2 separate regions of the Homo sapiens genome follow, and region 1 is linked to region 2. Evidence: promoter capture Hi-C in 16 types of primary human blood cells and fetal thymus (Javierre and others, 2016). All regions are on one chromosome and are shown on one strand. The core of a region is centred on a gene start or on the middle of the fragment in contact, and the rest is flanking DNA. Distances in the headings are between cores, read along the strand shown.

Evidence for each region. The method cuts DNA at HindIII sites, captures the fragments that hold promoters and counts their contacts. A CHiCAGO score of 5 or more calls a contact.
Region 1: a contact is called between a fragment that was not itself captured here and the fragment with the promoter of TMEM209 in region 2, in 1 of 17 cell types (erythroblasts). The highest score is 5.6, in erythroblasts.

The regions. Positions count from the first base shown.
Region 1 is chr7:130,697,877-130,702,644 of GRCh38, forward strand. No RefSeq gene overlaps it. Among named protein-coding and RNA genes, the nearest start is that of TSGA13, 14 kb to the left of the region's middle. The HindIII fragment of the contact is 1,578 bases long and covers 1,669-3,246 here.
Region 2 is chr7:130,203,066-130,207,931 of GRCh38, forward strand. It overlaps TMEM209 (transmembrane protein 209), which reads right to left and starts at 2,341. Exons shown (of 15, transcript NM_032842.4): 1 at 2,308-2,341; 2 at 909-1,045; 3 at 723-781. The coding sequence starts at 2,310. It overlaps SSMEM1 (serine rich single-pass membrane protein 1), which reads left to right and starts at 4,795. Exons shown (of 3, transcript NM_145268.4): 1 at 4,795-4,866. The coding sequence starts at 4,846. RefSeq lists a silencer at 824-1,118 and enhancers at 1,780-2,579, 2,256-2,435, 2,496-2,605. The HindIII fragment of the contact is 16,046 bases long and covers 1-4,866 here.

The sequences.
Region 1 (4,768 bases), core at 1,208-3,707, 490 kb after region 2:
ACTTTAAAAACGTGCCTTTTAAAGATGTGCAAGTAATCATTTGATTTACGTTCCAAATACAATTAGCAGAGTGTGGAAATCATATGTAGTCATTTTATAAAGCACAAGTATTGACAAAGGGTCATATGAGTTTCAGATGTTGCTGGTATTGAGAGGCCAAAGTATTGCATCAAACCAACTGTTTGTTAACATTTATATTCATTGTTTTTCATCAGAAAGCAACTCTAAAGCATTTTCCTCTCTAACATGAAAATGTGTTAATGATATATGGACACTTAAGTTATGTTTTAGGAACTTGATTGGGGGACTTTTGTTGACATGTAACCCATTATAATAATTTCCATTTAAAATTATAGGAAGTACACCCTCACTTAGCATTTTTATATGTAACATCTGGTTTTCAGGAAAGTATTATTGACTTAAATGGGAGATGCCTGAACATTTATAATTTTCAAACAAATAGAAATGAATTTTAAAAATTGATGTAGCATAAGTTAAAAAAGAATAAGAATAAAAACAAAAACAAAAGCATGTTAAATTGAAGACACAAAATAAGATGGTAAAAATTAAACGTTCAAATAAATTAATAATCATATTAAACATAAATGGAGTAAGTTCACCTAAGAGAAAGACATTCTCAGGGTGGATTTTAAAAATATGGCCATGTACTATTTGCCTACATATATCAAAAATATAGTAACACATAATGGCTGAAAAAGGTAGTCCTAGGAGTTTTTTCTCATTCTTTATGTCCTCTTTAAAAAAATTCCTTCACCCCTATCTACTTTGCCTCCTGTGCTACCATATCTCTATGTTACAGGTGACGTCCAAGAGCCTCCTACCAAACAAGAGGGCCAATTATAGCAGGTTGGAGATGTCCAAGTAAATCTAGGAGGTATTGGGTTACTTTGGCTGGGATTAAAAAATACCAGAAACCATTCGCTTTCATCTGGCAGGGACAACAATACATCTTTACCATTTTGCGGCAAGTGTGTCAGATATTTGCCCATTATTTTTCTGTACTCTGCACTAGGACACTGTGACTAGACACTGCAAACTTCACATTCCAGAGCCCCTTGCTAGCTAGCTTCTGCCAATTGGAGGCACTTCCAAAAACCATAAAGTGGAGGAGGTAAGAAGTAGTGTCTTCCAGTTTCCAGTTCTAGTTTGCTTACTCTCCAGCTACAGCAGACAGCTATGATTTGATTCCAGCCTTCAGCTTGTTATTCCCAGCAATATTCTCACTATGCCCCATCAAGATACTAGTAGCAGCCAAGCCCATCATTCACTTTTATCCATTTGGCCATAGCCCCTTGAGTGGTGCAGCCTACACTTCCTCAGCAGTCTAAGCACTAGAAGTAAAGTATCCTCTTCTGTATGTTCTGGTAATATCACTTCTTCCATTTTGTTCCCCCAGGTCTAAGGTGGTACCTTCTAAAGAGATTAATCTGTGGGTTGCCTCAACCTCTCATTTTTGCTTGTTTGGTGTTCCAATACCTGCGTAATCAATTCCCTTTATTAACTACCCTTTGTTTGAAATATCTAGTGTGGTTTACGTTCTTATGATTAGACTCTGACTGATAGAAGAACCTTGATCCTCTCACCATTCCAAAGAAAATTATGCTGGTCCACTACAGAGAGGGCTAAGAAAGCAGGGAATATCCTAAAAGCTTTGGTAAAACTCATGAATGTCAGGAAGAAGAAAATCTGAGGGCTTTTACATTAATGCATCTTCTAGAGGGTCCAGTTTAGGAGTATACAGGTTATCTCCTCCTCAGTGGACTGGCCTGCCTTACAGTAAGAAAAATGTAAAATTTTTGGTGGCAACCAATGGCACATTTGGGTGTGTTACACTGACAAATCCAATAGGTGACTTTGAAAAACTGACAAATTTTAGTGGGACTTAAAGCAAGAAAAGTTCCTTCAGCTGGTTCAGGCTGCAAGCAAGCAGCTCTGTCACTTGGCTCTTATGATTCAGTAGATCCAATGATGCGAAAAGGTCGGGATGACGAAACCAGCCCATGTGACTCCTCAGTAGGTAGGATCACATTAGTGACCTGCAGCGTTCTGTGGAAAAAGCCACACCCTGTGGGCAACTAAATATTCTCCTTATGAACCTCATGTTATATTTTGGGGGAATATATGTCTAAAAAATAAAAATGCTGGGTCATAAGATATATTTGTTTAATATAATTTGTCTGAGAAATGTCAAATTGCTGCCTGTAATCTCAGCACTTTGGGAGGCCAAGGCTGGCAGATCACCTGAGGTCAGGAGTTGGAGACCAACCTGACCAACATGGAGTTGGAGACCAACCTGACCAACATGGCAAAACCCCATCTCTACTAAAAATACAAAAATTAGCCGGGTGTGGTGGCTCGCACCTGTAGTCCCAGCTACTCGTAAGGCTGAGGCAGGAGAATTGCTTGAACCCGGGAGGCGGAGGTTGCAGTGAACCAACAGAGTGCCACTGTACTCCAGCCTGGGCGACAGAGTGAGACTTTGTCTCAAAAAGAAAGAAAGAAAGAAATGCCAAATTGCACTCCACAATGGCTGCCTCTTTTAAATATCTGCTTTGAAGGATTGCCCTTGGGCTACTGGAGCCACTTATCCCAGAGAATAGGAAGTGTCTGGGAGATTAGGTACCCCCAGTACATCTGTAGTCAATGGACCACTGCAGTATAAGGATGAAAGCCCAGCTCCTTTGCCTTAGACTCTTTCAGGCTGAGGCATAATTTCCTCTCCAGAACTCCCTTATAGGATCAGATTAAGGCTAGGACTCTGTCTGAAATACAGTACATCTTTCTTTAGTTTCTTCTATTTTTCTGTCCTTCATCCCCAACTTCCTTACCAGTTTATGCTGGGATGACTTTCTTAATAAGTTATTTGAAAATAAATCTATGTCTCAAGATTGGCTTTTGGCGAACATGAGCTAAGTCACATTGCCCCATCCACACTTAGTATCATTCAACTTTCTAATTCTTCCCTATTTCACTGTTGTTTCAATTTGCATTTCTTTGATTATTAATGAGTTTAAACATTTCTTCATATTTATCAACTTTTGGTTCCTTATTTAAATGCTGATTCATATCTTTTGCCTATTATTTTAATGAAGTTGCTGACATTTTCTTGTGAATTTGCAAGATTTTGTTATATATTCTAGATATCAACCCATAGTCAGCTTTAAATGGTATGAATAATTTTCTTTAATTCTATTAGCTGTCCATTAATTTTTTCCCTGGATAGAAAGCTTTTGTGTGTGTGTGTGTGCCTCCACCAAGATTTTTTAAATTAACTATTTTAAATTCAGTGACATTTAGTTCATTTGCAGCATTGTGCAACCACCGCATCTATCTAGTTTTGAAACATTTTCTTCACTCTAAAGTAAAACCTTTTGCACATTAAACAGTTTCTCCTCTTTCTCTCTAACCTGCCAGTACCTGGCAGCCACCAATCTGTGTTCTATCTTTATGAATTTATCTATTCTGGATATTTCATACAAATGGAATCATACAATATGTGATCTTTGGTGTCTGGCTTCTTTCACTTAGCTAATGTTTTAGAGGTTCATCCATGTTATAGCATGTATTAGGTACGGTACTTCATCCTTTTTTTTAATCACTGAAAAATATGCTTATGAATATACTGCAATTTGTTTATCCACTCTTCCACTGATAGACATTTGGGCTGTTTCCACCTTTTGACTATTATCAATAGTGCTGTTATGAACATGTGTGTACATGTGCTTATTTGAGTGCCTGTTTTTATTATTTGCAGCATATAGTGCTAGCATTTACCTAGGAGTGTAAATGCTAGATCATATGGCTAACCATTTTACATTCCCACTAGCAATGTATGAGGTTCCAATTTCTCCACATCCTTGCAAACATTTATTTTCTGGTGGTTTTTTGTTGTTGTTGTTGTTGTTGTTGTTTTTGTTTTTGTTTTTCACTTGTAGTCATCCCAGTGGGTGTGAAGTATTACCTCGGTGTTGGAAAGCTTTTTTGATGTAAATAGGTTAATTAATGTTTTGACTTATGGTTGTGTTTTCTTTTTTTTTTTTTTTAATTTATAAACTTTATTTAAACTTTATTTTTTTTTTCTTTTATCCGTAAACTTCTTTTTTTTTTTTTTTATTATACTCTAAGTTTTAGGGTACATGTGCACATTGTGCAGGTTAGTTACATATGTATACATGTGCCATGCTGGTGCGCTGCACCCACTAATGTGTCATCTAGCATTAGGTATATCTCCCAATGCTATCCCTCCCCCCTCCCCCGACCCCACCACAGTCCCCAGAGTGTGATATTCCCCTTCCTGTGTCCATGTGATCTCATTGTTCAATTCCCAGCTATGAGTGAGAATATGCGGTGTTTGGTTTTTTGTTCTTGCGATAGTTTACTGAGAATGATGGTTTCCAATTTCATCCATGTCCCTACAAAGGATATGAACTCATCATTTTTTATGGCTGCATAGTATTCCATGGTGTATATGTGCCACATTTTCTTAATCCAGTCTATCATTGTTGGACATTTGGGTTGGTTCCAAGTCTTTGCTATTGTGAATAGTGCCGCAATAAACATACGTGTGCATGTGTCTTTATAGCAGCATGATTTATACTCATTTGGGTATATACCCAGTAATGGGATGGCTGGGTCAAATGGTATTTCTAGTTCTAGATCCCTGAGGAATCGCCACACTGACTTCCACAATGGTTGAACTAGTTTACAGTCCCACCAACAGTGTAAAAGTGTTCCTATTTCTCCGCAT
Region 2 (4,866 bases), core at 1,091-3,590:
GTGACAGAGTGAGACTCCTTCTCAAAAAAAAAAAAAATTATGTGTAGGTAATTTACTAGTGAGTTTCAAAATAGCACTAATCCTAGCAACCCTGTACAATAAATATTTTCACCTTCATTTTAAATATAAACCAACATTATTCAGAAGCCAAGTGACTCTTACAAGAGTAGAGAGTTAGTTAGTGAAGCCATGATTCTAACTGAGGTCTGCTGATTGCAAATCCCTTGCTCTCCCAACTTGGCACACTATCTCCCTGTGAAAGACTTTAATGTGTATAGACTATGAAATTTACTTTAACATCCATAAAGACTCTTTATACCCAATGACTATGGAAGAGCAGACAAGAAGAGAGGAAAGAATGTGAAAACTGAGGAAGGCATCAATGGAGCAGAAATCTGGGCTGGTCTTGAAAAGTAAAAAGGTAGAGACACAGAAAGCGCATTTCAGGAGAGTAATAAAAACAAATCTCACTAACCTCTAAACTTATTTTTCTTCACAGAACTCATAATTACCTGAAGTGTTATTAATCTGATTGTCTAACAGAATGTTCCTTTCATAATAGCAGGGATTTACCTTGCTCCCTTTCTGCTGTATTCCCAGTTTTTACAACCCAGCAGGCAGTCAAATACTTGTTGAATAAGGAAATGTATACTAAGCTGAATTAAACCTGAAGGCAGTTTTTTATTGGTAAATGTAAGTTACAGTGAAAATTACTTACTTACCAATATACCAGAGGGGCCAGTATGTCACATTGTAGTATGAACTAATCAATTTTCCAGTCCTGAAAAAAAATTAGAAAGGCTTTCCAGTGAACCTAAAAACACCAAAAATCAAAAACAAACACAAAAACCTGTGGAACCAGCCACTGGCTTCTTAAAGTTTCACTTTTTTTGGACTGATTCACTTACATTTCAGTATATATCATTCCAGCCATAGATACATTTAGGAGTCCCCAGGCTAAGACCACTTTCCTAGCCTCTGTTTCTTTTCTCATCTTGATGGTTCTGTCAATAAGGGAAGCACTAGGGTGTGCCTCCCCCTGCATCTATGAAAAAACAAAAAGCACAGGAATTAACCAGAAGAAACTATTGCTCCATTTAAAAACCAAATTTTGCATCCCTTATAAAGGTAACTGAAACCGCATATACCTTCTCTCATCTTTAAAATGTTTTATCAAAACTTCTTCCATTTTAATATCAGTATATGAAAAGGGAACCCAAAATTATATGTAACTTAATTGGCATCACAGTGTAATCAACAGAGAAGTGGCTGGTTATTTATCTATTTATTTGTTTTGAGACGGAGTCTTGCTGTCTCCCAGGCTAGAATGCAGTGGCGCGATCTCGACTCACTGCAACCTCCGCCTCCCGGGTTCAAGCGATTCTCCTGCCTCAGACTCCCGAGTAGCTGGGATTACAGACGCCCGCCACCGCGTCCGACTGATTTTTGTATTTTTAGTAGAGACGGGATTTCAACATTTTGGCCAGGCTGGTCTCGAACTCCTGACCTTGTGATCCACCCGCCTCGGCCTCCCAAAGTGTTGGGATTACAGGCGTGAGCCACCGCGCCCAGCCGTGGCTGGTTATTTAAGAACAATTTAATACTTCCAATACATAAAAATGTCTTATTTTGTAATTTAAGGGTTATGTCTAGAAATACTTTGTATTTTGTCTTTGGGGTATGTTACACGGACTAGGCAAAAGGCTAACTTCAGAAACTCAAAATGTCAAGTTTTGGGAGACTATATTCCATATCTGCTGTAAGTCATAAAGACTGTTGTACATCCTCATGCAGACGCCATTACTATCTCAACAACTCTGCACTTGGACAGCTGTACTCCAGGGCTCTCCCTTTTGTGTGTGGATAAAGGACAAGGATCCAAGTTTTAGAAGGGCACGTACTTATGATGGGGTGGTGAGCGGAGTAAGAGGGAGAGAGGGGAAAACGTGCATTGTTTTGGTCCACATTTGGGATTTATAATTCCTCCTTTCTTCAGCTAGGCTCAACTCTTACAGACCGTGCAAAACTTGTTCCAGCGACAAGCAGTCGTATCCCACAGAGGACAGAGCAATAGCTTTCGCGCCACTCAGCCCCCGCGTCCCAATTTCCCAGTCCAGAGCTTCCCTCCCCGGCTCCTGGGCACGAACTTCAGCAACCCTATTGCTTCTTTCTTCCCTTCCCCTAGAGAGGCGGAACGCCTAGCCACATCCCCCTTGGCTGAACCCAGGACAGATCAGCAGGCGCGGAACTCCCACAACCCGCGTAGATTCCAAGACAGGAAGCACAAACACGACCCCGAAAACGCACCATGTCCTCTGGCCGGAAAACGCAGGCTCGCGCCACTCTCTCTGGGCATGCGCAAAGCCAAGCTCAAGCGGGAGGCCACCGGCAAGCGGCTCTAAAGTTACCGGAAGAACTAGGTAGTCTCTTCTCGCGAGAAAGGGAGGGGTCGCAGGCCCAGGCGCTCGGAGCGTTACCAGGGAAACAGGTCTCGGTTTTGCGGCTCCCACTCAGCTGCGGGAGAAAGCTAAGCAGCAAAATTCAGACCAGGCTCTGAACCCGCAGTAAAAAGTAATAATTGTAACAAGCTGAATTTTGTATCTATTAATATAATTTTAGCTTCCCTAGGGCATTTATGGACTCACATGTGTAAACTGATTAAGTAGGGCGGCTCACCGTAGGATAGAGTGGCGTGATAAAGTGGCCAGACACCATCAGTGACAAAGCATTTCTTTCCCCTGTGTTAAAGTATCTATGTCAAGAGTCCTGACCCCATGTAATTTTTTTTTTGGTAGAGACAGGGTTTCGCCATGTTGGCCAGTCTGGTCTCGATTTCCTAACCTCAAGGGATCCGCCCGCCTCAGCCTCCCAAACGCCTGCTGGCCTCCCACCGCCTTTTGGGATTACAGGCGTGGCCCACCGCGCCCGGCCTAAATTCTTAATCTGTTTAATAGGGTGCAGCAATAACAAGCACACCCAAAATTTGTTTTATTGAAGTTGCTAGTGGTTTTGAGGTTAAAAATAATAACACATTTTCGTATGTATTTTTTGGAAGAGCTGCTCATCCTGAGGAAAAGGTTGAGCTTTGTTTTATTTAGCACAAATACCTACAAGTGTGCCGCTGAGCCAGGCGCACGGATATAGAAAATAAGACCTTCCTGGTTATTACCCAGAGGAGCTCAACCCCAGCGGAGGCCCACAGATGCATTTCGGTGGCAGGTGAGGTGGATGCAGTGCTCCCCAAGGAGGCGCATCCAGCCCAGCCCCAGCTCTCGCGAGCTTCCTGGAGGAGATGACGCGTTAGAGTCCACAGCCAGAAACCCAGGGCCTGGGGACTTGTTCTGAAGTGTGCCTCCTAATAAAAACATTAAGCCATGCCACAGTAAGCTAGTGGATTACATCATGTATGTCCAATGGCCAAAGTTTTTCCTAAAATGATCCTAAGATTAATACCACGTGGTATTGTATATTAATGAAAATCGGCAGGTATGCTGTGCTCTTGAAGAGCTGTTAAGTTTTATCATTTTTAGATTGCTTTAGCAGCAATGTTGTTTTGCTCTAGTTTTAGATTTAGAGATGAACTAACTGGAAAATTGTTCAAAGTGAAAGGGCTCAAGGTGCAATCAAAATTAGAATACCGGCCGGGCGCGGTGGCTCACGCCTGTAATCCCAACACTTTGGGAGGCCGAGGCGGGCGGATCACGAGGTCAGGAGATGGAGACCAGCCTGGCCAAGACGCTGAAACCCTGTCTCTACTAAAAAGACAAAAAATTAGTAGGGCGTGGTGGCATGCGCCTGTAATCCCAATTACTCTGGAGGCTGAGGCAGGAGAATCACTTGAGCCTGGGAAGCCGAGGTTGCGGTGAGCCAAGATGGTGCCACTGCATTCCAGTCTGGGCGACAGAGTGAGACCCTGCTAAAAAAAAAAAAAAAAAAAATTAGAATACCGGTTTCCCACCCCCTCCATATGTGACTCTTTCCTAAGAAGAAATTGTATGCATTTGATGTAGTTCATAGTAGTTCATAACGGGCACATCTGTGTTTTTCCCTCTTAATCTATAAGCTGTTGTGCATTTATTCAAGGCTTAAAAAAGAACACCACTGACCAAATGACAGCATTATGTATTAGGGCTGCCATAACGCAATATCACAGACAGGTGGCTTAAACAACAGAAATTATTTTTTTCATAATTTTGGAGGCTGGAAGTCTAAGATCAAATTGTCAGCAGGGTTGGTTTCTCCTGAGGCGGGTCTCCTTGCAGACGGCCCCCTTGTATTGTGACCTTGATTTCTGTGCTCGTGAATCCTTGCTGTCTTCTTGTAAGGATACCAATTGTATTGGATTAGGGCCCTTATGACCTCATTTAACTTTAATTACCTCCTTAAAGGCCCTGTCTCCAAATAGAGTCACACTGGAGGTGAGGGCTTCAACATATGAATTTTAGGGAACACAGTTTGATCGGTAATACATTAGAACTGTCTATGATAATTTGCAATGGCATGATACATATAAAAGAGACTGAATTAAAATGAGTGGATACATTAAACACTTAGACGTGAAGATAGGAAAATATAGCATATACAAGTTTTAGGAAAAAAAATTAAGGCAGAATGCACCATATTGAGGTATGGGGGAAAATAACATAAACATTCAGAGGAGTAATTTGAATAACCTTCCACAAACTTAGAAGTCCAAGAAGCATTTGTCAGTTCCTAGAACAGTTGCTTAAGTATGTGTCATAATAGGTTGCCAAGGAAATTGTCATACATCATAGAGGGAGTGAAGTAGTTCCCAGTCATCTTTATCCCTTTAAGCATGGTTTATTTTCTGAGCAAGGAGTCATCATGGGAGACCTTTTTTCCTTA